Regions from separate parts of the Homo sapiens genome. Here regions 1 and 3 are each linked to region 2. The links are contacts of gene promoters, found by promoter capture Hi-C in human tissues and cell types (Jung and others, 2019). All regions are on one chromosome and are shown on one strand. Each heading gives the region's core, a stretch centred on a gene start or on the middle of the fragment in contact. The rest is flanking DNA. Distances are from core to core; before and after follow the strand shown. Region 1 overlaps LOC105376235 (a long non-coding RNA gene). Region 2 holds the start of PAPPA-AS1 (PAPPA antisense RNA 1). Region 3 has its middle 360 kb from the start of LINC00474.

What was found. The method cuts DNA at HindIII sites, captures the fragments that hold promoters and counts their contacts. A contact is called where the count stands out against the background at its distance.
Region 1: a fragment that was not itself captured here is called in contact with the fragment with the promoter of PAPPA-AS1 in region 2 in 1 of the 25 tissues and cell types used here (lymphoblastoid cells).
Region 3: a contact is called between a fragment that was not itself captured here and the fragment with the promoter of PAPPA-AS1 in region 2, in 2 of the 25 tissues and cell types used here (H1 embryonic stem cells and IMR-90 fibroblasts).

The regions. Positions count from the first base shown.
Region 1 is chr9:115,646,206-115,649,653 of GRCh38, forward strand. The region is part of intron 2 of LOC105376235 (a long non-coding RNA gene); the gene reads left to right. Among named protein-coding and RNA genes, the nearest start is that of LINC00474, 280 kb to the right of the region's middle. The HindIII fragment of the contact is 3,578 bases long and covers 1-3,411 here.
Region 2 is chr9:116,399,035-116,402,597 of GRCh38, forward strand. It overlaps PAPPA-AS1 (PAPPA antisense RNA 1), which reads right to left and starts at 1,572. Exons shown (of 1, transcript NR_103711.1): 1 at 1-1,572. PAPPA (pappalysin 1) reads left to right here. Exons shown (of 22, transcript NM_002581.5): 22 at 1-3,287. The HindIII fragment of the contact is 20,173 bases long and covers 1-3,563 here.
Region 3 is chr9:115,565,504-115,568,748 of GRCh38, forward strand. No RefSeq gene overlaps it. Among named protein-coding and RNA genes, the nearest start is that of LINC00474, 360 kb to the right of the region's middle. The HindIII fragment of the contact is 5,245 bases long and covers 1-3,245 here.

The sequences.
Region 1 (3,448 bases), core at 373-2,872, 750 kb before region 2:
AATTGTTTTCAGGATACTAATACTTTGCTTTCCTTCCACCCAGTGGTCCTCATTTCAGGCTTGGGGGTCCATAGAGAAAGTCTATTCCCCTAATCCTTCAGAAGACTGCTGAGAGTGGTATAAGAAACATGGCCATAGGGGGTTCAAGACCTGGCTTTGCCCCTAGTGCTCCACTCTTAAAGTGTGGTCCTCTCACCAGCAGCAACATAGACATGCAGAATTCCAGGCTGCATCCCAGACCTACTAAAGCAGAATCTGCAATTTAACAAAATCCCCATGTGACTTATTTGCAAGTTGATGTTTGAAGAATGAGATGGGATACCAAGGCAAACAAAACAAAACAAAACAAACAAACAAAAAAAAAAACCAACCAACAAAAAAACAAAACTAGATGGAATTTCACTATGAAAGTAGCATCAGGGGGTGTATTACTTTGTTCTCACGCTGCTGATAAAGACATACCAGAGATTGGGTAATTTATAAAGAAAAGGAGGTTTAATGGTCTCACAGTTCTACATGGCTAGGGAGGCCTCATAATCATGGCAGAAGGCAAAAAGCATGTCTTACATGGTGACATAAAAGAACGAATTTGTGCAGGGAAACTCTGCTTTATAAAACTATCAGGTCTCATGAGACTTACCACTATCACGAGAACAGCACAAGAAAGACCCGCCCTCATGATTCAATTGTCTCCCACTGGGTTCCTCCCACAACACACAGGAATTATGGAGCTACAATTCAAGATGAGATTTGAGTGCGGACACAGCCAAACCACATGAAGGATAGAGTGAATTCAACAGTATAGAAACGTAGAAGAGAGAGTTCCTAGAAGTAGATTACTTGAGTGAATGTGATGAGGAATAAGGGGGAGCTAAAGATCATCCAGACATTTATAGACTGGGTGGCTAAGAGGATCTGGACTCAAAGTAGCCATAGCTTTTGCTGCTTTAACTGACGTCAATTCAATGCCAAACTTAGAGTAGCATGGCAGTCCTTAGCTGCTGTACTTCTTGAGCTTTCTTCGATATTCCCTCCAGGTATAAAACCTGTTTGCCTCAGTTCAGTGCTTCTATTAGCGATATTCTTAGGGCTCTCTCTGTCACAGGTTTGTCCTTGTTTTGCTTACTCAGAGGCACTTTCTGAAAGAATAATACAGCCTCCCTTCCATTTCCTGCCTCCTCCTTCCAATTACATAAGGACAGCCATGAGTGTTTTAAGCATTAAAAAATAGTATAGATCAATTTGTCAATATTTCTAAATGAGGCTTTGCATGACAGAATGTCTGCTCAGGGACTAGAGCTCTGCTTTCTTGATACTGATGACCTTAGTTACTGGGATTTCCTGAAGGGTCTTTTATTTTGTTGCTGTTTTAATGAATACACAATAGCATTTTCGACCCAGAGCAAATGTCCAAGAACACCTTCCATTCTCACCCTTCATGAGCCCTTCACTGGTTTTGAAACTTCTATTAACTCTAATGGTCTTTACTGGTGGTAAATTGTCTCTCTGAGCATGCTGGTAGCTCACCTAATTGGGTCTACCTTATTGTGACTTGAAATAGCACCAAGGAACGGGATGTCCTTGGACTGAGAACCTGATTATTTCATCCTTTAAGGTTCAGCTTAGATAAATATGTTTAGTGAAGTTCTCATTAACTTCCCTACCTGCCTCTAAATGTGGCTCAGACAGGTAGTTGCCTCCTAGTTGATAAGGATACTGTTTACTATATACACACGTCTGCTTTTTTTTTTTCTTTTCTTTTGGAGACAGAGTCTCATTCTGTTACCCAGACCAGACTGCAGTGGCTTGATCATAGCTCACTGCAGCTTGAAACTCCTGGGCTCTAGTGATCATCCCGTCTTGGCCTCCTGAGAAGGTAGGACTGCAGGTGTGCACCACCACACAGGGATAATTTTTCTTTCTTTTTTTTTTTTTTTTAGAGATGTGGTCTTGCTTTGTTGCCCAGGGAGGAGTGCAGTGGCATGACAATATCTCACTGCAGCCTCAAACTCCTGGCCTCAAACGGTCTTCTCCTCTTGGCCTCCCAAAGTGCTGGGATTACAGGTGCAAGCCACCACACACAGCCCACGTTTCTGTTTTAATCATAGAGGGAAGAAATACATAGACTAACCCAACAGCTAGCATGAAAATTCCTCCCAGAGTGGGAAATCTTTTGTCTATCAAAGTACCTTGATTAGCTGCTTTTGGTGGAAGATGAGACACTTAGGGCATGGTTAGAGTCAGGAAATTAAATGATTTTTGTTTTCAGCATTAAAAAATCAGTAAAGTTGAGGCATAGAAGAGAACAGAGAAGTGAGGGGAAATTGAACAACAATGGCGAGGGACTGGAGACTGAATCCCAGGCACATTTGAAACTTAAAACTTGAGCGCAGGTCATTTGATTACCCAGTAAGTAATTAATGGCACAGTTACAGTCTATCTACCACTTTCTAGACAAAAACATGCTTGGGCAGTCTTCATGGAAATGGCACTATGAACCTGTAGACACATTTATAAACACAAAGATATCTCACTTATTTGGAGATTACTATTTCCAGCACAGCCTGTGACCTATGAGTAGGCAGTGAAATGAGAGGATATAAAATAACCCCCAATAATAATACATAGCTCGCATTTATGAAGCTTGCTAGGCACCAGGCACTTTGTAAACAGTTTTTCTCATACATGATGTGCCTAACATTTGCAAAGATAGCGTGCATATTATGCATGTTTCCAATTTTTCTGGTAGAAAAACTGAGACTTGGAAAGGTTAAATGGATGCCAAGGTCTATGAGTTAGAATATGATGGACTAGCACTAGAACTCTAATTCCAAAAAGCCTGCTATTTACCAAATATTTTCAACCCAAGGCTTCTTCCTATGGATAACTAAATGTGCCTACTAAACCAAGTTTTAAATTTTAGTCATGAAATAGCCCCTTAAGTTCCAGAGTAGAGCTCATTTACTCTTTTTTTATATGATAACTTAATGATGATACCTGGTTATCTAGTTGACACATTAAAAACTATAAATTTAATAAGTCATAGTGATGAGGGAATCCAAGAGGTAGGCCTGTGGACAATGTCAGTGAGTATTGGAAAATTAAATGAGAGCGGACACAAAAGAACAAAAACAAAACAAAACATGGAATTCAAACAAACAGAAACAGTCAGTGTGAGAAAATTCAAAGTTTGTTAAATTCAGCGAAATTGTCACTATATTCTGGTCCAGAATGTCACTGTGAAGAGTGACAACTCTGGGTTAAAAAGAAATTATGTTATAGTTCCCATTTTGAAGTAATATGACAGAATAAAATATACTTCAAGGGAAAATAATCTAATTTAAATGACTAAAATATGCACTGGTGCAGTAAATGGCTTTAGCTTATGGAGAGAAGATATTTTGGTACCCACCCTGGCCTTGCACATACATGTTAGTTCTGTGTCCTG
Region 2 (3,563 bases), core at 322-2,821:
AAAAAGCTCTGAAGACCCAAAGATGACATTACTAATGATGTGATTTCAGGAGCCACAGAAGAACCTTACCAGCTTCCCTCAAATCAGTCCTTATCCTCTTTCTATCTTCACTCCCATCATCATCTATTTTCACACTATCCAGCTAAGCAAAGATTCCTGGAGGCTGACTTGTATCTTCAGACTCACAGAGTGAATTCAGCTCTTCTGAATCAAGACCCACCCAGTCTCTTTCATTCAGACCTGTTGCTAACAAATTTATATTTGCCAAGGATATTAGGCAAAAGAGGCTACTTGATTGGTGGCCAACCTCGTGCCCACATGGAAGGTATCTTTAATAGGGTCTTTTCAAACCTTAGTGGAGGAGGGTCAGCTCAATTTGGGCAATGCATTTGTTCCCAGTTTCATTTTCTTCCTGGGAATTAACTCGTCATTTCATTCCTTCAGTCATCTTCTGTGTAGGTGACCGGAGCACTGAGAGGCAGCTCTGATGCACTATTGTGTGTCAGCAGCTCAAAGGCCCTAAAACACTGAAGGTTCTGCATCTGAAGTATTAGATTGTTAGCAGCAAAATATGAAAGATGAGGTGGACAGTCCTCTAAGCCCTATTTAGGGAAGCTTTTCCAAGCCACAATCTTAACTACCTACCCAAAGGATTTGCATTACCCCCAGATTCTGTGCCAACAACCTTTTAAGGAAATACAGTCCTTGGGAAATGAGTTTTGATGGTGAATTGGGGTGTTAAGGAAGGGAAAGATTGTCATAGATGGTAGGGCTTTGAAAATGCAGGGTATCAGCTGCCACTCCTGGCTTCAACACATTGAGTCACTGCCTAGACGGTTCTCTTGGTCTTATTCCCATCCTGGCCAATGCTTAAATACTATTTGTTGAAAATAATTCTTTGAGACAGATTTCAGCTACCTCCCTTCCAGGTTCGATTTAACTTGGTTGTAATTGTCAATTTGTTGTTATAGGTCTTACCTGTGTGAAAGAAAGAAAAAGAAAGAAAGAAAGAAAGAGAAAGGAAATTATAAGGTCAAGTTAACAGTTTTGAGGTTTTGTGTTTTTTTCTGGAACTACTTCAAGTGAGAAAATAAAAAAAAATGGTGACAAAGCTGTACAGATAGAGATAATAGAAGACAAAGAGATTAAAAGGAAATAAAAATGCATGATTAAAAACTAAGAATAAAAAACCTATTTTTATGTTTCCTAAAGGAAATTGTTTATTCTACAGCCTCAGTAGGTAGACACAAACATAAAGATTTCCCTAGAAGACATAGAGTGGGATTTGATAACACTGTCTGTTATTTTCTGTACATTGTGGTAGGTCCAGGAAATATGACATTTTCCCCCTTGATGTGTTATTGTTGTTGTTGGGTGGGGTGGGCATTTTGTTTATTTGTTTGGTGGCAATCAGTGGTAGTAGGGAGTGGGAGGGCTTATATTGGTTTTTCCAGCTATTAAGGGGACATATTGTGTCGTTGTGCTTTTCACGTTATAAAATGTTTATATTTACCAGTACAGCACTGGGCTTTATAAAGACTGCACTCAGAACCACACTGCACAGTCCAGTTTTTTAAAAAGCTGCTACATGACAGACAGGTAATCCCACTGAGTGAGTTTTGAGAAACAAATCAAACGAAGTAAACAAGAAACATAAAAACCAAATAGCAAATGAATAAAAGCCTGTTCTTGTAACTTATTCAACTTTTGCCAAATTCCTACCAATCACTTGCTTTTTAAAAGAAATGTATAATAGCCAAAAGAGAAATTATGTCCCTGTTGTACAGAAGTTAGAATTTTTGACTCCAGGCAGCAGTTTGCTCAGTGATCTTGAACAAGTTATCCAATTGCCTCTACATTTGCATCAGTTTCTCTAGCTGCAAAATGGGGATAATACTATATACCTACCTCACAGTGGGAGGGCAGGAGATTTTGAGGCCCTGAGGTTTTAGGTGGGCTGTGAGGGCCAACGCTTGACACAAAGTCCATGGGTTATTATTCAAGAATGCACAGGCCCATCGGCCTTTTAGAAAGACAAGACAGGGAGTGCTTGTTTGATATTTCAAGGAATAAAGCCGGAGCTCCTGAATTGTAGTCCACCTTAAAAGAGAGACCTGTATTGGAGAATATTTTATTTTTTTGGCAAATTTGATCTTACCCTTTACCAGTTCTATAATTTGGTTAAAAGCTGATTATGTCCTACAATGTCAAAGTCAGCTAACTGTCGTCTACTTAAGACTTCTGGTCATTTCCAACTTATAGAGGAAGGGAGTCTCTAAAATCTCTTCTTCAGAAGGCACCTCACTTCTCAGACTTAAAATTCCACATCAAGTGTTCCATTAAAAGAAGATAAGGCATTCTGAGTGCAAACAAATGGGGGCTTCTTAAACTACACACCAGCAGTCAGTGAGGAAAACTTTGAACAATTATTGAGTTGCTTTCTTGGGTCTCTATAATCAATAACCTGTCTGCAGATATCTATCTATATAAAGATATTATATATAAATATAAATTTACATATATATGCACATGTATATATAGTTGTACATATATGTGTGTATATATATACTTAAATGTAATATTTACAAAATAAAACTGTGATCTCGTCTAGAGAAAATGTATTCATATTACAAACTGCTCTTCCATATTTATGTACCATATTATACCTTTTTATTATTGTTATAATTATTATGGGTATTTCTAATTAATATGATGTTGAAACCTGTTTGGCACCTTCTGGAAGCTACCAAAAAAATGACACTCCATTGAAGTGCTTAAAAGCTGTTCTCATAAGAATTCTTCTGGCCTATTGTAAAAAAGAAAAAAAAAAAGAAAAAGAAGAAAGACACAAAGAAAATAATCTAAACACCAAAAACTAAACACAATTCCAATCCTTTTTCTGTACCTCACGCGCATAAATTTGCTGCTCCTATTTTTTTTTCTGTTTATGTGTTTTTATGGATCTAAGTTAAATCTTTTGGCAATATATAAAAATGTAAATAGTAAACTTTATTTATTAAGAATGTCATCTTTTTTAATTTATATTTACACAATTGTTCATCTAATTTATTTTTTCTATACAGTTTTAAATACTCAGACATATTTTGCTGTTCATGATATTTTTATCCTGTTCTCATGGATTTGTTTTCCCATACTGTTTTCTCTGATCTCAATTACAGGTTGGATCTCACAAATAATAATGTCAGAGACAGAAATATTTTGCCACTGTTGATTACTATACTTTAAAGTTCTATATTATGAAAATATATAATAGCTTGTACGCTTCAGTGTGTTGTTGTGTGGTTTTTGTGTGTTGCGGAATGATAAAGGGCTGTCATATATACACGCTAACATGGAGAGAGCCCTGGGGCCTGGAATTAGACAATCAATGATAGAACAAGATTTTATCCAATATATATCGATTCCTCTACAAAATTAATTCCTGAAAGTATCTAATTTTGCATATGCAAAAACTGAAAAACTTTCTTACATGTTATAAGAAAGTTCTGGGGAGCTAAAGCATATGTCACTCTTGGTTATATATTGCCTTTTGCACACAGCCT
Region 3 (3,245 bases), core at 343-2,842, 830 kb before region 2:
GCATGTCTTACATGGCAGTAGAAAAGACAGAATGAGAGCCACGCAAAAGTGAAAACCCCTTATAAAAATATCAAATCTCATGAGACTTATTCACTACCATGGGAACAGTATAGGGGATACCACCCCCATGATTAAATTATCTTCCACCAAGTCCCTCCCACAACATGTGGGAATTATGGGAGCTACAATTCAAGACAAGATTTGGGTGGGGACACATCCAAGCCATATCATGGAGAAAGGTGAATACTTATACACTCTTGTTAGGAATGTAAATTAGTCGAACTTTTATGGAAAATAGTATGGAGATTCCTTAAAGAACTAAAAGTAGATCTACCATTTAATCCAGCAATCTCACTACTGAGTATCTACCTGATATGGTTTGGCTCTGTGTCCCCACCCAAATCTCATCTTGTGGCTCCCATAATTCCCACGTGTTGTGGACGGGACCTGGTGGGAGATAACTGAATCATGGGGGCAGGTCTTTTCTGTGCTGTTCTCATGATAGTGAATAAGTCTCATGAGACCTGATGGTTTTAAAAATGATAGTTTCTCCACACAAGTTCTCTCTTTGCCTGCTGCCATTCACATAAGATGTGACTTGCTCCTCTTTGCCTTCCACCATGATTGTGAGGCCTCCCCAGCCATGTCGAACTGTAAGTCCAATAAACCTCTTTCTTTTGTAAATTGCCTAGTCTCAAGGATGTCTTTATTATCAGCATGAAAACAGGTTAAAATAGTACATTGGTACTGAGAGTGGGTGCTGCTGAAAAGATAACTGAAAATGTGGAAGCGACTTTGGAACTGGGTAACAGGCAGAGGTTGGAAAAGTTTAGAGGGCTCAGAAGAAGACAGGAAAATGTGGGAAAGTGTGGAACTCCCTAGATACTTGTTGAATGGTTTTAACCAAAATGCTGATAATGATACAGGCAATGAAATCCAGGCTGAGGTGGTCTCAGATGGAGATAAGGGACTTGTTGGGAACTGCAGTAAAGATGACTCTTGTTATGTTTTATCAAAAAGATTGGCAGCGGTGACTCTTGTTATGTTTTAGCAAAAAGACTGGCAGCATTTTGCCCCTGCCCTAGAGATCTGCAGAACTTTGAACTTGAGAAAGATGATTTAGGGTATCTGGTGGAATAAGTTTCTTCCTTCCTTCCTTCCTTTCTTCCTTCCTTCATTCATTCATTCCTTCCTTCCTCTCTCTCTTTTTCCTTCCTTCCTTCCTTTCTCTCTCTCTCTCTTTCTTTCTTTCTTTCTTTTTTTCTTCTTTTTTGGAGTCTCACTCTGTCATCCAGGCTGGAGTGTAGTGGTGTGATCTCGGCTCACTGAAACCTCCACCTCCTGGGTTCAAGCAATTCTCCTGCCTCAACCTCCTGAGTAGCTGGGATTACAGGTGCCTGCTACTATGCCTGGCTAATTTTTTTTTTTTTTTGTATTTTTAGTAAAGACAAGGTTTCACCATGTTGGCCAGGCTGGTTTCAAACTCCTGACCTCAAGTGATCTGCCTGCCTCAGTCTCCCAAAGTGCTGGGATTACAGGCATGGGTGGAAAAAGTTTCTAAGCAGCAAAGCATTCAAGATGTGACTTGCGTGCTGTTAAAGGCATTCAGTTTTATAAGAGAAGCAAACTATAAAAACTCAGAAAATTTGCAGCCTGACAATGCAAAAGAAAACTTCCTTTTCTGAGGAGAAATTCAAGCCAGCTGCAGAAATTTGCATAAGTAAAAAGAAGTTGAATGTTAATCCCCAAGACAATGGGGAAAATATCTCCAGAGCCTGAAAAAGGTCTTCATGGCAGCATCTCTCATCACAGACCCAGAGGCCTAGGAGGAAAAAGTGGTTTCATGGGCCAGGCCCAGAGTCCCCATGCTGTGTGCAGCCTAGGGACTTGGTGCCCTGCGTCCCAACTTCTCCAGCCATGTCTGAAAGGGGCCAATGTAGAGCTCAAGCTGTGGCTTCAAGGGTGCAAGCCCCAAGCCCTGCCAGCTTCCATGTGGTGTTGAGCCTGCCAGTGCACAGAAGTCAATAATTGGAGTTTGGGAACCTCCACCTAGATATCAGAAGATGTATGGAAATGCCTGGAGGTCTAGGCAGAAGTTTGCTGCAGGGGTGGGGCCCTCATGGAGAACCTCTGCTAAGGCAGTGTGGAAGGGAAATGTGGGGTTGAAGCCACCACCCAGAGACTCTACTGGAGCACCATTGAGTGGAATTGTGAGAAGAGGGCCACCGTCCTCCAGACCCCAGAATGGTAGATCCATCAACTGCTTGCACTGTGTGCCTGGAAAAGCTGCAGACACTCAATGTTAGCCCATGAAAGCAGCCAGGAGGGGGACTATACCCTACAAAGCCACAGGGACAGAGCTGCCCAAGGCTGTGGGATCCTACCTGTTGCATCAATGTGACCTGGGTGTGAGACCTGGAGTAAGAGGAGATTATTTTGGAGCTTTAAGATTTTACTGCCCTGCTGGATTTCAGGCTTGCATGGGATCTGTAGCCCCTTTGTTTTGGTCAATTTATCCCATTTGGAATGAGTGTATTTACCCAATGCCTGTGCCTCCATTGTATCTAGGAAGTAACTAACTTGCTTTTGATTTTACAGGCTCATAGGCAGAAGGGACTTGCCTTATCTCCGATGAGACTTTGGACTGTAGATGTTTGAGTTAATGCTGAAATGAGATAAGACTTTGGGGGACTGTGGGGAAGGCAAGATTGGTTTTGAAATGTGAAGATATGAGATTTAAGGGTGTCATGGGCGAAATTATATGATTTGACTCTGTGTCCCCACCCAAATCTCATCTTGTAGCTCCCATAATTCTCACGTGTTGTGGGAGAGACCCAGTGGGAGATAACTGAATCATAGGTGCAGGTCTTTCCAGTGCTATTCTTATGATAATGAATGGGTCTCATGATATCTGATGGTTTTAAAAACGGGAGTTTCTCTGCACAAGCTCTCTCTTTGCCTGCTTCCATCTATGTAAGATGTGACTTGAACCTCCTTGCCTTCTACCCTGATTGTGAGGTCTCTCCAGCAATGTGGATCTGTAACTCCAATAAACCTCTTTTGTTTTTTTAAATTGCCCAGTCTTGGGTGTGTCTTTATAAGCAGCATGAAAACAGACTAATAAACTACCCAAGGGAAAAGAAGTAATTATATGAAAAAGACACACGCACACATGTTTATTGCAGAACAATCTGCAATTGCAAAGATATAGAACCAACCTAAGAGCCCATTGACCAATGAGTAGC